2 separate regions of the Homo sapiens genome follow, and region 2 is linked to region 1. Evidence: promoter capture Hi-C in 16 types of primary human blood cells and fetal thymus (Javierre and others, 2016). All regions are on one chromosome and are shown on one strand. The core of a region is centred on a gene start or on the middle of the fragment in contact, and the rest is flanking DNA. Distances in the headings are between cores, read along the strand shown. Region 1 holds the start of RAPGEF1 (Rap guanine nucleotide exchange factor 1). Region 2 overlaps PRRC2B (proline rich coiled-coil 2B).

Region 1 (4,736 bases), core at 1,913-4,412:
GAGGGAACATTCTAGACAGCAGGAGCAGCTCATGAGAAGGTTCCAAGTCAGCCAGAACTGGGCTTTGGGAATCCGTTTGCTTCATTACCTTGTGTGTGTTCTACTATAGTTATAAACATCTTTGATGAATAGCCTTTATTAAGTAAGTTCTGTGACCCTGATTTACCATAATGTCCATTTGCAAAGTACTTTGTTGTTTGCAAATCTTTTGTCATTGGATATGTCATAATTTATTAAATATATTTGTGTTCTCACAAACCCCTGACTGCACCTAGTATCCATGCAGTCTAGTTTTCTACTTTTCAACCAGGATTTTGGATTTAAAATATCGGCTCTTCTCAGCTCAGAAGCCTAGAAGGGTTGGGGGCAGCATTGAGTGTGTTTTGGGGTTGGGCCTGGGACCAGGGGCCAGTTTTGCCTGGTAAGGCATCTGCCAAGAGGGCTGAACAGGGCCACCCTGGATCAGAGCATCCATTCATCAGGTGGAAGAGGGAAATGAATTTGTCAATCTTTGGATTTGCCTTTGACCTCTAGAGGGCTGCAACTGATGAAATGATGATGGGAAATTTGGCTGCCATCTATGACCATCTCCTTTTTTTTTTTTTTAAAGAGGGAGTCTCGCTCTGTCACCCAGGCTGGAGTGCAGTGGCGCGATCTTGGCTCCCTGCAACCTCTGCCTCCCAGGTTCAAGTGATTCTCGTGCCTCAGCCTCCTGAGTAGCTGGGACTACCAGCGCGCACCACCACGCCCGGCTATTTTTTGTATTTTTAGTAGAGATGGGGTTTCACCATGTTGGCCAGGCTGGTCTCGAACTCCTGAACTCAGGTGATCTACCCACCTCGGCCTCCCAAAGTGCTGGGATTACAGGTGTGAGCCACCACACCCGGCCTGACTAGCTCTTAGTTGTGGAATCGGTGACCCTTTAGACTGTCCAGGGAGATGGGAATAAGAATCTCTCACAACATTAGCAGTTTTTCCTCCTCCCTGCACCTCCCCCAAATCCTGTCCCCATCACTAGGTTATTTAATTTACTTATTTTGGGGGAAACAGGAGGGAAAACTAGCCCAGGTGGTGCGTGCTACTTCTTTGTATTCCATCTTAGACTAACAACAGGAAGCAGGCAGCAGAATTGCCCCACATTGGAACATCACTTGCGTTACTAATTTGTTGTTATTTACTACTTGTATTATAGGATTTAACTTTGACTTCCCAGCTAAGTTGTGAACTCTTTGGAGGGAAGCACCAATTGTGCCCACTTTTGTAGGGCCCACAGAACCCGAAATAGTGCTTAGACTTAGCAGATCCTTTGATTCTTAAATGACTTTTTTTTTCCTTTTTTTTTTTTTTTTTTTTAGCCAGGGTCTTCCTCTGTCACTCAGGCTGGAGTGCAGTGGTGCAATCATGACTCCCTGAAACCTCTGCCTCCAGGGCTCAAGTGATTCTCCCTCATCAGCCTCTCAAGTAACTGGGACTACAGGCAGGTGCCGCCGTGCCTGGCTAATTTTTGTATTTTTAGTAGAGACGGAGTTTCACACATTGCCCAGGCTGGTCTCGAACCCCTGGGCTCAAGTCATCCACCCACCTCAGCCTCCCAAAGTGCTGTGATTGCAGCCGTGAGCCACTGTGCCCAACCACGACTTTTTTTTTTTTTTTGAGACGGAGTCTCGCTCTGGAGCCACCAGGCTGGAGTACAGTGGCATGATCTCGGTTCACTGCAACCTCCATGTCCTGGGTTCAAGAGATTCTCCTGCCTCAGCCTCCCAAGTAGCTGGGACTACAGGCGTGTGCCACCATGCCCACCTAATTTTTGTATTTTTAGTAGAGATGGGGTTTCACCATGTTGGCCAGGATGGTCTCAATCTCTTGACCTCGTGATCCACCTGCCTCGGCCTCCCAAAGTGCTGGGATTACAGGCGTGAGCCACCGTGCCCAGCCACGACTTTTAATGAACTCATTTCCACACTAGAAAAGTTCCACAGCTGAGCCCCAGGGTGCCCTTCTGGATGTCAAATAAGCAGGGCAGGCAGGGTGTGCTGTGTCCCTGAGGGAGTTGGGCCCAGGCCAGCATGGAGGCTCTAGGCCTCAGGGGACATTTAGGCCTGAGTAGGGCCAACCCCAGCCCGGGACAGGTGGCTCTCGCTGGCAGGGTGACTGAGTCCCACATGCAGGGCTGGGGTGGAGAATGAATCCTCCGCCTTGGCATAGACCTTGGGCCAGCAGAGGGCTTTCATGCCAGAGTGGACTCATTCCCCGGCTGGAGCCTCTGGGCTGGCAGGAGGTGCTATGAGGCCACTCCCAGGCCCTGGTGTGGGGTCTCCAATTAAGAAGGGGGTGCGGGCAGGGTGCAGTGGTTCACACCTGTAATCCCAGCACTTTGGGAGGCCAAGGTGGGTGGATCATGAGGTCAGAAGATCGAGACCAGCCTGGCCAACATGGCGAAACCCCGTTTCTACTAAAAATACAAAAATTAGCTGGGCATGGTGGCATGTGCCTGTAATCCCAGCTACTCAGGAGGCTGAGGCAGGAGAATTGCTTGAACCCGGCAGGCAGAGGTTGCAGTGAGTCGAGATCGCGCCACTGCTCTCCAGCCTGGCGACAAAGTGAGACTCGGTCTCAAAAACAAAAAACAAAACAAAAAAGGGGGTGCTGCATCTCTGGTTTGGGGGAGGTCAGGACAGGCTCCCAGCCAGCAGAGCTTGTTGAGTCCTGGTGAGAGTGAGTTCTAGGCCCTGGTGTGGAGCCTCTGGCCCACAGGGGATGCTGGGTCCGGGATGATGCTAGGGTGGGGTGGGCGTCAGTTCCACGTCCTGGGGTGGAAAATCTGACCCAGGAGGGTTCTCTGTGTCTCTGGTGAGGGGGCAGGCCAGGCTCTTGGGCAACCGAGGACCCTGGGTTGGAGCTGTCAGTCCCAGGTCTGGAGCTGGTGACTCTGGTCCCACAGCAGAGGAATGCGGAGTCCCAGGCGGGGTCGGCCCCACACCCCAGGCCCCAGGCCCCGGCGTGGGGACTCCGGCTCGGCAGGGGGCGCTGCGTCTCGCGCGTCGCGCGGGAGGCTCGGGCGGCTCCGGGCCCACAGGGGGCGCTGTGGCGGCGCGGCGGGCGCCCGGCAGGTGGCGCTGTGGCCGTGGCCGCGGCCGAGGCCCGGCGGGCGGGCGGGCGGCGTCGCTGCGCTGCGGCCGGCTCGCGGGCCGGGGGAGCGGCGGCGGGCGCGCGGGAGGCGGAGCGGCGGCGGCGGGCGCGGCGGGAGCGGCTGGGCCCGGGCGGGCTGGAGCGCGGTCGCCGAGCGCAGGGCCGCGGCCGCGCGGAGCCCGCCATGCCGGCGCGGGTCTGAGGCGTGGCGAGCCAGGGCCGAGGCGAGCGGCGGGCGCGCCGCCCCTGTCGCCCCGCGGCGGCCCGGCCCGGGCCCGATGAGCGGCGGCCTCGGCCTCCGGCGCAGCCCGGAAATGTCCGGCAAGATCGAGAAAGCAGGTGAGGCGCGGGCGTGGGGCGGCTCCCTCCGGCCGGGCCCGGCCCTGGGGCTCCGCCGCTCCCCGGGCCGAGCGCGGGTCGCCCGGGATGTGCGGCCCTCCGTGCGCCGGGGCGGGGTGAAGCCACCGAGGCCTCGCCGGGGCGCCTGGCAGCTTCTCCTCCAGGCCCATTGCCTGCCGGGCGCGGGGGGAAGCGGCCGCTGCGGGGGCGCCAGGGGCCGGGCCGGGCGGGGCCCCTGCAACCCGGGGCCGGGCGCGCTAGCCGCTCCGCGGTCCCCGGGAACTTCCGAAAATGGCTCGAGCCCCAAGCAGGGGAAGAACAGCCCGGGCCGCGTGCTGCTGCGGCTGCAGCGATCGGTGCCCGGCCTGGGCTCGGCGCTAGGAGGGTGAACCCAGCTGAGCTGTAAAATGTGTCATTTCTAACGAGCTTCGAGTTTAACGAGAAGCGTCCACTTCGGTTGCTTCAAAGGAAGCAGGCTGGATGAGTGGGGGTATTTTGAGGAGGTAGTCAAGTTTCCCCTCCCCACCCCGATCAAGCTCAGCTCTGCAAGGAGGGCAGGTGGGGGACCGGTGGGTTGGAGTAGATGGTAAATCTTGATGCAGACCTCGTCTCTTTGTGTGTTCCTAGAAATCTGGGGGAGTTACCTTCCGAGTCCCTGGGTTTGCCTGTCCTGGAAATAGAGTCTCCAAAGATTCAATGACTGTCGAGCCTGTGGGGCCCCAGGCTTTATTAGCCTGCAGCACCTTGCAGGGCAAATGCGAATTCTTGGGTCTAAGGTGAAGTGGGCGGGTGCTCCTGGGCTCCTGTACTGGGAGCATGCCCTGTGGTCATAACCCCGGTAGCAGGTTAGCTTGGCGGCTGAATGAGGGAAAGCAGATTTTTAGGGAGCTGCAAAGGAGGTCTGTGGCTTTGATTGTGGAAGTTGCTTATGTTTCCTGGGTTGAATCTGGGATACTTCTGTGGGGTGCACCCCTGCAGCGGACCCACAAGGCAATATGACTTTTGCAGGCTGTGGTTGAAGCACAGAAGGACATTTTTGTAGGCTTTATTGAGGGTTTACTATATATCTAACTCTTAGCACCTAAAATGCATTGCTTCTTAAATTTTTGAAGCTAGTCTGTGGGAAAGAATATGGTCCCAGTTTTACAGGCTCAGAGAGGTTCAGTGAGTTCCGGCTGTCCAGACAGCAAGAGGGCGGCAGGCCCCTAGTATATTCATTCCTGGCCCTCTGACCAGAAGCCAGGGTGCTTTTCTCAGGGGCAGGGCGC
Region 2 (4,657 bases), core at 1,645-4,144, 300 kb after region 1:
GCAAAGCCAGGACCCAAACCTGTTTCTCTCCATTCGGTGCTCTGGAACCTCCCGTGTCCACAGAGAGCTACTTTATTTTGCTCCAGCGACAAAGACTAAGGCCCAGTTCCGGCATGTGTCTTTAAAACTGCGCAGCTGCTAATGAGGAACGTGAACAAAGAAGGCCAACATGCCAGATCTTGATCTGGGTGGGCTGGCTGCAGCACTTTCTGTAGTGACCGTGACTCTACAAGGCACAGCTCCCCTCCTGAGAACCCTAGGAGGTCACCTCTGCTGAAAACTCGCCAGGGTCAGCATTATGCGAAGCACACCCAGCCTGACTGAATGCTCACCACCCCCTGAGAAGGCTCTAGTCACATCCCCCACTGAGGCTCAGAGAAGAGTGACTGAGTCAGATGCAGAACAGCAGGACCAGGACCAGTCTCCAGCCTGCCTATGTCCAGTGCCCTTTCGAGTCTCTAACCACTAAGCTCACCCGTCTTTTCCACTCAACTAACATTCATCTCACAGCCTTCCTCTTCTAACTGAAGGTGAAAATACACAAAACAAAGCTGCTGCTTTGTGAAACTTCCCCACTTACTGGTAGATGTTCTAAAACTCGCACAACACTGGGCACTTCTTCTTACCTGCCCCTCACATATGAGAGAAAACCAGGTAGCAGCAAAGAAGCACTGAGCACTGGATAAGGTGACCCCTGTGCCAGTGCCAGGATGGGTTCCCCTTCCTTGGCATAGTGCTCCCCTTCAGCAATTCATTCAAATAGATGCCCAGGACCTCACCCACAGGCCCCAGTGGTGGGGTCTGAGCACATACATCTTGAACAGGCTTCAGAGGCAAATCTGATCTCTCAGCTCTATCACCTCACTCCTTTTCTTTCAAATTCTGGGAAGCAGAAAGGAACTCAACTCTAAATACTCTGACTAGCCTATGGGTCCCAGTGGATTTAGGCCAAGGAAAAGGGCATCTTGCATGATTATAGACCTCTTTTCTTGTCTTTAATTTTAAAAGCACGGTTCAGTGTTAGGTGGGGAGAGGGTGCCCTGGCAAAGCCACAGACTTCCCTGAGTATGGTTAAAGCAGAGAGGGGATGACATTTGAGACCTTATATTGCCCATGCAGCAAAGCAAAACCAAAATATGTTCATTCCCGCTGTCAAGAGAGCTGGTGAATATGAGATATCTACGTCTACTTTTAGTCTTCTAAAAAATTCATAGACTTCTCATCTAGATTTCTAGTTCTGGCTAAGTATATCCTCCTGCCAATCTCTGGAAACCTGTAGCCAGGCTCTGATGGACTGAGTGTGTTATGAGCTCTTGCTTGGTGAAATCATTACTTTCTGCTTAGAAAAACACTTAAAACATATCAACAAATGAAGGATTGTAGCTTCGTATTTCCCAAAGCGTGTTCTGAGAGACATTAGTCCCTAGAGACATTCGGTAAAGAAATGTTTCCTGGGACAAATAAATTCAGGGACTGCTGCCCATTATATCCTCTTCTCAGAGAGTCACATTAGGTATTAGCATATGAAAGGCACTGAGAAGTACCGCAGTAAAGGAGCTCGCTTCGTTTTGTTTTTCAAACTCACCTGGCCAGTGAACCTTTTTGTGACCTGCCACTTTTTGTCTTCCTGTGACCCAAGCTTCCATGGAGCTCACGTGACGCTTCCATGGAGCTTCACCCTGAACTAGTCTGCAGTCCAGCCTGAGTGACCCTGCCTCACGGTAAATCAAGAGGAACCAAAGTAGGTGCCTGTATCCTAGTCTGTATCTGAGGTCTTTTTCTAAAAGCTGCAGATTAAATTTCTTAACCACTGACCTTGACGGTTTCCCATGACGGTTTTCTAAAGTCACTCATCGGGTGTGCCTCTGGAATAGACAGGTCATGCACAACCACACTTCTCAGTAGCAACTCCTTCCATCCCCCAGCAACAAAGAGATTTAGGGGCTACCATGCCCAGGAAACAGTTGGGATGGGGTCCCAGCACCTACCTCCTGACTGATTGACTGTGTCGGTTTCTGCAAATTGGAGACAGATTTCTGCAAACCCGGCTGCGGCAGCGACTCCGGCGGCTGAGAGGCCGTCGCACTGGAACTAGACAAAGGCAGGGCAGTGGGGTCAGGCACCGCACAGAGTGCGCTGGCCAGGTCTCTGCGTTCTCAGGAGCCACAGCTGTTCAGCTGCTCACAGGAAGCAGACCTCCTCTGGCCAATAAAAATACGACTTTCCCCAGTAGATTCTTATGCTGGCAAAAACTAATAAGAAAACAAACCATGCTTAAGTTCTAGTCACTGACATTTAAAATTAGCACAAGACAGTCCTCTGACTTTTTCTTTTTCTTTTTTTTGAGACAGGGGGTCTCACTCTATCACCCAGGCTGGAGTGTAGTGGGGTAAACTTGGCTCAATGCAACCTCTGCTTCCCGGCCTCAAGCAATCCTCTCATCTCGGCCTTCTGAGTAGGTGGGACTACAGGCTTGAGCCACCTTGCCTGGCCTTTCTTTTTTAAAAATGAAACTTTTCTGCCTTCTTGTAGAGCCTTCTGTCTGCAAAAACTAAAAGCTCACTGTAAACAATGCAAATGAAGGATTTGCCAATAGGGAAATTCAATCACTGGAATGAAGGGCTTGTGCCCCTTACCCCAGACCCAGAGCCCATACCTACTCAGAGGGCTGACTTTTTAACCTTCTCTGAGTTTATAAAAGAAATACATGCTCATAGTAAAAATAAACTTATAAATAAAACTAGGTAACACAGAACATCATGATCTCATCATCCAGAGAGAAACTCCAAGCAGACTTTTCTATACCTGTTAATACAGTTTTGTTTTTAACCAGCAGAGTTTTACACTGCAGGAATACAGTATTTTTCTAACAGAAGTGGAGTGACCCCATACATAAAGCTCTATGACTTTTTTACTTCATGCATCTGAACATCTTTTCATCAACATAGAAACGGATCTTCCTTTTGCTTTTAATGAGCACACAACACAACTAGACAGGTCATAATTTAACCAGTCTCTCATATGGGTTTTTCTTCCCCCTTACAGATACAACTGCAATAAGAATTTTTTGGCTTTTTTTTTTTTTTTTTTTTTTTTTAGATGGAGTCTCATTCTGCCGCCCAGGTTGCAGTGCAGTGGCATGATCTCAGCTCACTGCAACCTCTTTCTCCCAGGTTCAAGCGATTCTCCTGCCTCAGTCTCCCGAATATCTGGGATTACAGTTATGCAGCACCACGCCTGGCTAATTTTTGTATTTTTAGCAGAGACGGGGTTTCAACATGTTGGCCAGGCCAGTCTTGAACTCCTGACCTCATGTGATCTGCTCAGTTCAGCCTCCCAAAGTGCTGGGATTACAGGTGTGAGCCACTGCGCCCGACCTACAATAAGAACTTTTTTTTCTTTTCTTTTTTTTCGAGATGGAATCTCGCTCTGTCACTCTGGCTAAAGTGCAGTGGCATGATCTCGGCTCACTGCAACCTCTGCCTCCCGGGTTCAAGCAATTCTCCTGCCTCATCCTCCCAAGTAGCTGGGATTACAGGCGTGCACGACCACGCCCAGCTAATTTTTGTATTTTTAGTAGAGATCGGGTTTCGCCATGTTGGTCAGGCTGGTCTTGAACTCCTGACCTCAGGTGATCCACCCTCCTCGGCCTCCCAAAGTGCTGGGATTACAGATGTCAGCCACTGCACCCGGCCAAGAATTTTTTTTAATACATATCTTTGCACCATTTTTCTGTAAGTAATTCCATAGCATACGACCTTAGAAATGGAAATGCTGGATCAAAAGATATTTTGAAGTTTAAATGATTGCCAGGCTGCCCTCCAAAAAAAGGCTGTGTCAGTGAATTTACACTCCACAGGTGAAGTGATGAAATCAACAAGAAATGGCCGAATGAAGGTTTCTGCTCTAACTCAGCGCTCCGGTCACAGTAGGCAACTTTTCACTCAACGAGATTCAAGGAGGGCAGCCACCCCCCTGGTGGGAACTCCTCCAATACAAGTGGCTTATCTGTAAATGGAAGCCAAACTCTATACAGACACCCTCTTCCAAGATTCACCTGACCCAGGCAACTCACCATTCGTGATTATTACAAACAGAAGGCTACTGATCGGGTTCTTACATCTCCTTCTACCTAAAAGAGAAGCTTCCAAGTAGTCGCACTTTTGTGTTCTCCAAAACTAAGCACTGAGTCCCCACGTTGTGGGCCCACTTGCCACCTGATACCTTGGTGGGAGGATGTGGCCTGGGGCAGCAGAGAACTACACGGGGGTCTATGCCCTCACCAACACTCCATCCTCACCTCTTCCCTGGCGGACGTGCTCCAGCACAACTAGCCCTCACTGGAGCCGCAAAGGCAGAGTAAAGGCTGGATAACAGGAGGGAGTAATGCTTTGTCCTCTCTAGAACTTTTGGTGGTGCAGAGGATTTCAGTCCTTCCATTAAAATGTGCAATATCCATTTCGTTCCAGAGCTCATGGTGTGAATGGAATGAGTACCATTTGAATGGAATGATGACAGCAGCCAATATCTGCCCCTCCTCTGTGCCAGGTTTAGGCTAAGCACTTGACCTATGCTAGCCCATCAATGCCTCATGGATACCGTGTAACCACCAGCAAAGCCAGGTATCATTCCTATTTCAAGGGGGGGACACTGAGGC

What was found. Contacts are between HindIII fragments. The CHiCAGO score rates a contact against its expected background, and 5 or more counts as called.
Region 2: a contact is called between a fragment that was not itself captured here and the fragment with the promoter of RAPGEF1 in region 1, in 1 of 17 cell types (non-activated CD4 T cells). The highest score is 5.1, in non-activated CD4 T cells.

Annotation. Positions count from the first base shown.
Region 1 is chr9:131,738,502-131,743,237 of GRCh38, reverse strand. RAPGEF1 (Rap guanine nucleotide exchange factor 1) reads left to right here and starts at 3,162. Exons shown (of 27, transcript NM_001377935.1): 1 at 3,162-3,468. The coding sequence starts at 3,408. RefSeq lists silencers at 2,939-3,198, 3,349-3,398, 3,449-3,778. The HindIII fragment of the contact is 12,763 bases long and covers 1-4,736 here.
Region 2 is chr9:131,434,054-131,438,710 of GRCh38, reverse strand. It overlaps PRRC2B (proline rich coiled-coil 2B), which reads right to left. Exons shown (of 32, transcript NM_013318.4): 4 at 1,989-2,091. Among named protein-coding and RNA genes, the nearest start is that of PRRC2B, 42 kb to the right of the region's middle. RefSeq lists enhancers at 686-1,659, 1,660-2,635. The HindIII fragment of the contact is 2,505 bases long and covers 1,642-4,146 here.